2 separate regions of the Homo sapiens genome follow, and region 2 is linked to region 1. The links are contacts of gene promoters, found by promoter capture Hi-C in blood cells and fetal thymus (Javierre and others, 2016). All regions are on one chromosome and are shown on one strand. The core of a region is centred on a gene start or on the middle of the fragment in contact, and the rest is flanking DNA. Distances in the headings are between cores, read along the strand shown. Region 1 holds the start of RBM43 (RNA binding motif protein 43). Region 2 holds the start of ACVR2A (activin A receptor type 2A).

What was found. Contacts are between HindIII fragments. The CHiCAGO score rates a contact against its expected background, and 5 or more counts as called.
Region 2: the fragment with the promoter of ACVR2A here is called in contact with the fragment with the promoter of RBM43 in region 1 in 1 of 17 cell types (total B cells); the score reaches 5.2 in total B cells.

What each region holds. Positions count from the first base shown.
Region 1 is chr2:151,260,604-151,264,653 of GRCh38, reverse strand. RBM43 (RNA binding motif protein 43) reads left to right here and starts at 2,791. Exons shown (of 4, transcript NM_198557.3): 1 at 2,791-2,929. The coding sequence starts at 2,927. RefSeq lists an enhancer at 2,708-2,937 and a silencer at 2,978-3,247. The HindIII fragment of the contact is 8,034 bases long and covers 1-4,050 here.
Region 2 is chr2:147,842,057-147,846,298 of GRCh38, reverse strand. It overlaps ACVR2A (activin A receptor type 2A), which reads right to left and starts at 1,270. Exons shown (of 11, transcript NM_001616.5): 1 at 1,092-1,270. The coding sequence starts at 1,146. RefSeq lists silencers at 829-908, 1,664-1,773, 1,854-2,043 and an enhancer at 2,170-2,920. The HindIII fragment of the contact is 3,923 bases long and covers 46-3,968 here.

The DNA.
Region 1 (4,050 bases), core at 1,542-4,041:
ACTGCCCTCAGCATTCCTTCTGGGTGGCATACTCAGTTTGTCAGTTTGCCAACATTCTGCATTTATGAGAACAGTTTGCTGTTTACCCATACAGCCTCCAGTGGTATACTGAGTTGATCACGACCCTCAGTCTTTCGGCTTTAACATTATTGTAGCTAAGACCCAAGTGACAGCAGGAGCCAGTCAAGTGAAGATCAGGGCGGAGCTATTGAGGCAGGGACACAGTACATAGGTCAGGCAAAACTCCCAGGCTGATAGCTTGTTGCGATTGCAGCAGAGGGTCAGGGCAGTGGTAGGAGATCTGGCCAGAAAAAAAAGGATCAAGGTCATTGTGGCTCAGGTGAAAGCAATGCAAACAATGATGTGTTTAAACAGAAGTCGAATCTGATTTACATTTTAAAAAGATCCTTCTGGGTATGGTAGCAAGAATGGACTGAGGAGCTAGAGAGGATGGAGACTGGATGAGGATGGTAGGGATGCAGCTGGAAAGAGGGACTGATACTGGGTCCCTCTGGAAGGCCCATTGTTGGGGTATACTAAGAAGGATGAGGAAAAGAGAAATCAAGAACTGGGTCATGAGCTTGAGCTCATGGGTAGACAGTGCTGCCAATTCTTGAGAGGGAATTAAGAAGGGGAGAAGAAGGGTTCTCCTTGTTAAATTCAGATGCTTGTTTGACATTCAAGTAGGCACTTAGATATATAAAATCTGGAGATAAAATATAAATTGGGGAATTACATACAGATGTACCTCATTCTGTTTTTTTTTTTTTTTCTTGAGACAGAGTCTTGCTCTGGAGTTCTACTTGTTAAATTTCAGATGCTTGTTTGACATTCAAGTGGGCACTTAGATATATAAATCTGGAGATAAAATATAAATTGGGGAATTACATACAGATCTACCTCATGCTGTTTTTTTTTTTTTTCCTTCTTGAGATAGAGTCTTGTTCTCTCGCCCAGGCTGGAGTGCAGTGGTGTGATCTTGGCTCACTCTGCCTCCCGGGTTCAAGCGATTCTCTAGCCTCAGCCTCCCGAGTAGCTGAGATTACAGGTGTGTGCCACCACGCCCGGCTAATTTTTGTATTTTTAGTACAGACGGGTTTCACCATGTTGCTCAAGCTGGTCTTGAATTCCTGAGCTCAAAATGATCCGCCCACCTTGGCCTCCCAAAGTTCTGGGAATACAGGCGGGAGCCACTTCCCCCTACCTCATTCTGTTTTAAAATCTTCATAGCCTTGTGCCTTACTGATATATCATCAGCCGTATAACAAATAGCTCCATCCAATGATAAACTAGGTGGATCCCAGTTTATAAAAAAATTATTACTACCTGTATTTCAAGCAATGTACAACTAAAATTTCTATACAATATCTTAGTGCCATTTGCGCACTATAACTTCAAGTTCAGTTCTAAAAGTAGAATTGCTGAGACTAAGAATATGTGCATTTTACATTTTTTTGCACTTTACATTTTGATAAAAATCTTTAGAAGTATTTGCATCCATCTATGCTTGCAGCAACTCTGATGCTTACATTCAGGCTAACACTTTCTGGTTTTGCAGATCTAGTTGTGAAAAATGGTATCTTATTATTTCAATTTACATTTCTTAGGAGTGGGATTGGGTTTCTTCATATCTGCTAGCCATCTACCTTTGTTCTTCATGCATTCATTGATTTGATTTTGAAGTTTGTCCAGAGATTCCCTGTGTCCCCACAGGCGCCATTCGGGGTTCCTGTGCTAAGGCATGGACAAGGTGGTGAGCTCTCTGCTGGCAGGGACCTGGCGCTCTCATCCTGTGTCCTTAGCACCCGGCAGAGGTCCAAGAGGGCTCCTGGTCTGGGCTGGGAAGGTGACCAACACGGCGTTGGGGGTTGAGGTGGGGGTTGGGGAACTGGGGTAGGTTGTGCAGAGGAAAAGGCCCAGGTGAGCGGTGGGGGAAGGGGAAGAAGTCTGGACAGATAATAAGGGCGTAGGAAAGACATCCAGATTTCACTGAGTGCAGGGCTTTTTAAAACTGATGTTAGAAAAACTTGATTTGCTGTTGTAAAAAACCATCTGTGTGAAGTAGAAATTGATATCAATAACATGATAGAGAATACGTTCTAAAAAGTAAAGGTAGCTGGATGTAAAATTCTGGCAGAAGTTTAATATCCTAGATGGTTAGTTTGAGGCCAGCAACTAATGAGGATAAAAGCCTTCTCCATGGAAAATTTTGGACAGTTATCTGGAGAAATATTACAGTGCGCATCAACCAAATTGAAATGTTTTCAAAAGTGTTGTAAAGTTTCATGTAGTAAAAAGGTTTTAGCCACATGCCCTTCAATTTCATGGCATCGAATATATAAACACAGAAGAGAGCATGCATGCAAGATATTTAACTCCCTTACATGATAATGCATGCGATTCAAAACTATCATGACATCTAGGGCTCTCTGCAACTACGAGATGATTGATGTTAGGAAAAGCGTAGCCCCCCAGTATCAACACAGGAAGCGGCCACCACCTACTATGTGTTTTCCCTTTTTGCGTTTTTTCTTTTTTTAAATCAACTCTGCCGTTGTTGCTGCTGCTTAGCAAAACGGGTAAAAACAAAATTGCAATCACTGATGCATCACCCAGAGAATTCCCAAATTTCCTGTCGAGGAATCCTCTCGGCCTCTCTCCAGAGTGCTTCCACAAGTTGCAAAACTACGGAGGGCGTCTGGGCAGGCGCTGGCAACAGCACTCCTGAGTCCGAGCTCCCACTCAGAGGCCACGAGGTCGCAGAACAGCCGGATCGGGTGGAAGGACCGCCCTTTTCTTCGTAGCCTCCAAGGGAGCTGGAACAAAAAACGAAACCAAAACCTGCCTGCTCGCTCCTCTCCCCATCGCCTGCGTTCCGCTGGTTGTGGGCTTTCTGCGGCCGCTGAGGGCGCGTCTCCCCTCCGCCATGGCAAGTTGCTTTTGCTTTGGGTTTTGCGGTGCAGGTCCGTGCCTGTACCGTCGCCATGGTCCCCTAGAAGGGCGCGGAACCGGGCGCGACGGGCCAGGGTGCAGGGCTGCGCGGGAGGGGGCGGCGCACGGAGGGGCCCCAGGGACCCCGGGGGCCCCGGAGAGCCGTCCACCCCGGCGGGCAAACTCAGGTCAGCCTCGCTGCACCCTTCCCAGGTGGCGGCATTGCGCGCTCCTGAAATTCACGTACGGCGGTGCAGTATAGGCCCGCTCCAGAGGCTCAGGACTAGGCTGTCACCTCCCACACCCACTGCCCAGGCGACGGGGACGCCGCCGTTCGTCGAGGAGCTGCTTCGCAGGCTGTTAGGGCTTAACTGTTGTCCTCCCACGCCTCGGGGGGAACAAAAGTGGCCTGATTAGCCAGAAATGGAGGTCACAGCTGCCTTTTGAAAAGGGCTAATAAGAACGATTCGAGCCAAGGACGCAAGTCAGGAAGACATCCTCATGTCTTATGTCTGCCTTGGTGCGAATTCTTGTCTTAGCAAATTCAAAATTTATCCTTCTGTGTTTTGTTTTGTTTCCATCAATCGCTTAAAAGCCTTGGCAAGGCCTTTAATTCCTGCTCTGAAATGCTAGAGTCCCGGAAATGCAAAAGCAAGTACGTTTTTGTTGACCTGGTGGCGGTAGAGGCGTCGTCATTGAAAATAAACAACTGATTTTGAGAAAATCAATATAAACAAATGCAGTCAATGAATCTTCTGTTTCTTCCCAATGCCTTACTTACAAAAGTAAAGTTTTGCTATATACTTTTTGCTTTCTGATAAGATGGCCAAGTCTGTTATAACACAATACTGATGCAAGGAAATGCGCCATCACGTTAGTATGTCTTGGCTAAAAGCTGCTCGTTTCAAAGTCCTTGAAAGGACTGTCTTTCTCTAGGCATTTCTTTATCTTAATCGTGGGTAGAAGAGATGAACAACCCTCATTATTCATAATTGACCTCAGTAAAATTATCTATGTTAGCCATACTTTCTCCAACCTATGAAAGGGAGTTAAGGACAAATATTGGCAAGTCATTGAAGTACTAATTCATTAGATGATTCATAGAAACTAGTTCTTACC
Region 2 (4,242 bases), core at 21-2,520, 3.4 Mb after region 1:
TCGCCCCCGTTTCCAAGAGTCCCCCGTAATTCTATGCCACAAGCTTGTAACTGAATATTAAATTTTACAATAAATAGATCCAATGAGACTTATTTAAAATGTTTCATCTATTGAACTAACTCTCCTGTTATGTACATCTGCACACCTTTCAGCTAGATGCTGTATTTATTTATAGAATTTCAAATACAAAAGACTAGATAGTTTTTCCAACCACTGGTTGCAACCATAGAACGTCCTCACAAAATCAAAATTTCCAATATAAAATGGCCCGTTTATTCCCCCAACCTTGAGCTAAAACCTATTTTATGAGTGTACTATATTTAACAAAAACAATTTCACATGGGTTGTTCTAAACCGAAAACAATGCTTCAATACAAAGCGTTTAAAATAAGTATTCCGTAGGTAAGCAAAATCTATGCCCCAAAAGAGCACACAAATGGTGGTTGAACGCCAGCACATTACCAATACCAAGCGGCATACCTCTTCTGCACTGGGTTATAGTTAATACTCCAACAACAACTACAACTATTTTTAACACTGCTGGACGCTGAAGTTGAAGAAAACGTGAGGGGAGACCCAGATTAAATTGCTGATAGGATGTATTGTTTCCCACAGCCAAAATTAAGCAGCAACTGGCTTGATCTATGTCGTGATATTCACCGGTGAAGCACTAATTAAACGATGACAAAAAGCAACCCTTGTTTTGGAGGAGCCCACACTAAATACTCCTTTCAGATCTCAACCTTTGCATAAATTGTCACTTGTGGTATTTGCGGCTTAATTGCAACCCAACCAGCGCTGTCATCCAGTGTTATGGCCACAAAACATGACTTTCTCACTTCCACAACAACACAGCACTCACTCTTATCAGCTCGCCGACCCAACTCAAAAAGAGAAAAATGCATGGAGGTTTCCAGATCACAATCAGACCTGGGGGCGGGGGGGGGGGGCGGTGGCAGCCGAGGGGCGCAGGGAGTGGGCAACCTCCCCAGGCTCCACTGGACTCTCCGACTCAACACCAGCCGCGGCCCCCAGCAGCGGCCGCCGCGGCCGCAGGAGCAGCCCCACCGCGCCGCGCTCCCTGCACCTACCTGAAGAACAGGAGATAAGAAAGACGGCAAACGCCAACTTTGCAGCAGCTCCCATTTTCCCGAGGCGCCGGGGAATCCGGAGGAAGTTCTCGCTAGATATCCAGTTCCCTGGGTCTTCCTCGGAGACAAACCTCCTGGTGTAAAATCAACCGTCATAAAACATATTCGGAAGCCCAGACCAAAAAAAAAAAAAAAAAAAAAAAAAAACGCTCACTGGGTTAAAAAAAAAAAAGAAAAAAAAGAGCACAACGATAAAAAATAAAATGCACCACGGGGGAAAAACCGCCACACACACGCACAACACACAAAACCAAACAACGAAAAGCCAACAACAACAAAAGCGGGTTTAAATCACTGTCAAAATCACTGTCAGCTCCGCTCGCCTCTCCCGTCTCTCGGAACAAAACGCCAGGCTGAGGCGACGAAGAGGCGGCGGCGGCAGCGGCGTCCGCTGCCGCCCGGACAGTCTGGGAACTGACTGGGTCCGATGTCCGGACCGACCTTCAACCCAGACACCTAAAGTCCGAGGACCACTGGCGGCCGAGCTCGCGGCGGTGGCGGCGAGGCGGCTGCGGCGCGGGGAAGGGGCGGCGGGCGGCAGCGGCGGCGGCGGTGCAGGCGGCGGCCAAGTTCTGGTCCAGGCTCTGGCTCCAGCTCCGGGCTCCGGGCTCGGCCGCGTTTTCGGTCTCCTGGCCTCCGCCGGGCTCCGCCCCCCAAACTTCCGGTTCCGGCCCGAAGCTGGAAGCCAGGCGCAGCGGAGGAACGCTCGGCGGCAGCGGCGGCGGCGGCGGCGGCGGCAGCGGCGGCCGGGCGCAGCGCGCGTGCCGGGCCGGGAGCGCGAGGAGATTGTCGGGGAAGCGAGGCGGGAGCGGGGGAGGGGTGAGAGAGCGAGGGCGGGGCGGAGTGGAGGGCGAGGAGGCGGGGCGGACGGAGGCTCGATACCGCGAGGCCTCGGCGTCCGGCCTGCTTGGGCTAGAGATACCGCGACAAAGGGGCGCGGGCGCCTCAAAGTCCCTAAGCTGTGGCTGGGCTGTGGCCGGGCGAGTAGATGCGGGCTAGGCCGGGCACGACCCGTTTCCAAATCGCGTCCGACGGGCCTGTCTGGAGCGCCCACCCAAAGGGTCAGGAGAAGCCCAAGAGGAAGAGGACCCCGAGGTGGGGCGAGTGGCCAGGGACTTCTCCAAGGGGCGTCTGCGGCGCCCAGTCTTTCCTCTGGGGGGACGCCTCGTCCGCTCTGATACCGAGGAGTCGGTGGAAGGCGGACGTGGGAGCTGTTTCGCCGCGCCCGCCGAGCTGCCCAGGCGAGCTCGCGACGCGCGAGCTGGTGTGTGCGCCCCCAGACTTAGCACTGCGTCCCACCGCTGCAGCTTCTGCACACGCGTGCTGTCTTGGTGACTAGAAAAGAAAAAGAAAAAACTCACGGAGGAAGGGCTGTCCACCCGCTCAGGATATTCACGCCATTTATCACGATGCGCAACTTGAATCCATTCCCGCCGTTCCTTTTACACACAAAGCATTGTGTTGAAAACTGTTTTGCACGTAATAGGTGCGCAAATACTTGTTTACTGCGCTTTGAAGAAAAAAATGAGGATTTCGAACGACATATTTGATGATCAGACAAGTGATTACTTGTCAAAATTTTAGCTATTTAAGGGCCTGTTTTTACCCCTTAATCCATGTCGATTGCTTACAAGCTGGTGTGCTAGGCACGGAATGGGATCCAACAGGTAAAAATAGGATGGATCCCTACCTCAAGTAGCTTTTAGTATTTGCTGTATTCAGTTGGTTGCAGAATACAAACTAGAGACTATTGAAGGTAGTTGCTCTGTCATTTACCACACTTTAGTGAGCTTCGTGAAGGTAGAGATCTTGATTTTTTCCTTATTTTATTCCAGCACCCAGAAGTATCAACTAGCACATAAGTGCTTAATAAATAATTGTATAAATGACTAAGGGATGACTGCCTTTCTCTTAAATACAGTCTCTGTTAATGTACTCTACAAAGTTTTGGTTTTTAATAAAACAACTGTATAATATGGCTAATTCATGTTTCATTTGTGGTTTACTGATTCCCACCTTTTCCCACAAAGCCAAGTCTTCTCACTTATATTTACAGCAGTTTACTTCCTCTAAATTACTCTGTATTTCTGTCTATTAAGTTCATCCTGTAATTATCTGCCCATTTCTACAACTTATCAGGGTTATTAATAATCAACGTGGCTCTTTAAATCTCTCCAAGATTGCCAGTTCTCAAATCGTGATGCTCAGAATTTGACTGATGTTGGAACAGTTACAAAGTCCCAAGTCGGTATTAAAGGTGTCTGAATGATCTCATGTAGTTCTCCTATCTTTATGAGTTGGTCAAAGGAATATGTGTAAGCCTTCCATTTTCTGGTTGAATTAAGAGTTGTACTAACGGTTCTGGAATGGAAGAGTATATTTTACTCTAGAAACACTTGAAGTTCATTAGAGAATTTGATGTCAGTTAGGGTCAGGCCCCACTCTTGTCTTATCTGTGCATCACTTCAGTATTTCTTTAATTGTGAAGCCTGAGCAAGTGGAATAACTGGAATAGCGAGTAATACAACTGAAACTTGTAAATATATTCCTTATCTTACCAACTAAATTTGCCATTATAAGAACGAGAGCATGAAAATTATTTTTCTGTAGTACTAAAGAGAAGCAGCCAGTCTTCACGAGGACATTCCTTTCTAACAAAGACAGAAAACCCCATGGGAAAAGTATTAACAACCAGTAACGCAGCTATTCTGTTCCTAAATGTGTTCAATTACCCCTTCGTTTTTTTTTTTAATTCAAAAATAATGTAACCTAAAAAGACAAGGAATTGTGACTAATTTCCACCGGAGCTTCAAAGCTTAAAAAGAGGTAGCTACAGCTAACCCCATTGCCCTTCTTTCCTCCTTGTTTTCTAGAATCACTTTTTAAAATCCATAAATCCAACAACCACTTCCTAACACATTGCAAGGTGTAAAACCTGGTTTGGGAAGGAAAATGAGAAAGGAGAGGAAAGGAAAAGGAAACATGAATTCTAATCGACCAGAGCATCGGGCATTATGAGATAAACATCTTTAGCTAACTTCATTCACTTCCCAGCCCCAAGACCTAGCCTTATGGCCACTCCAATGCTAGA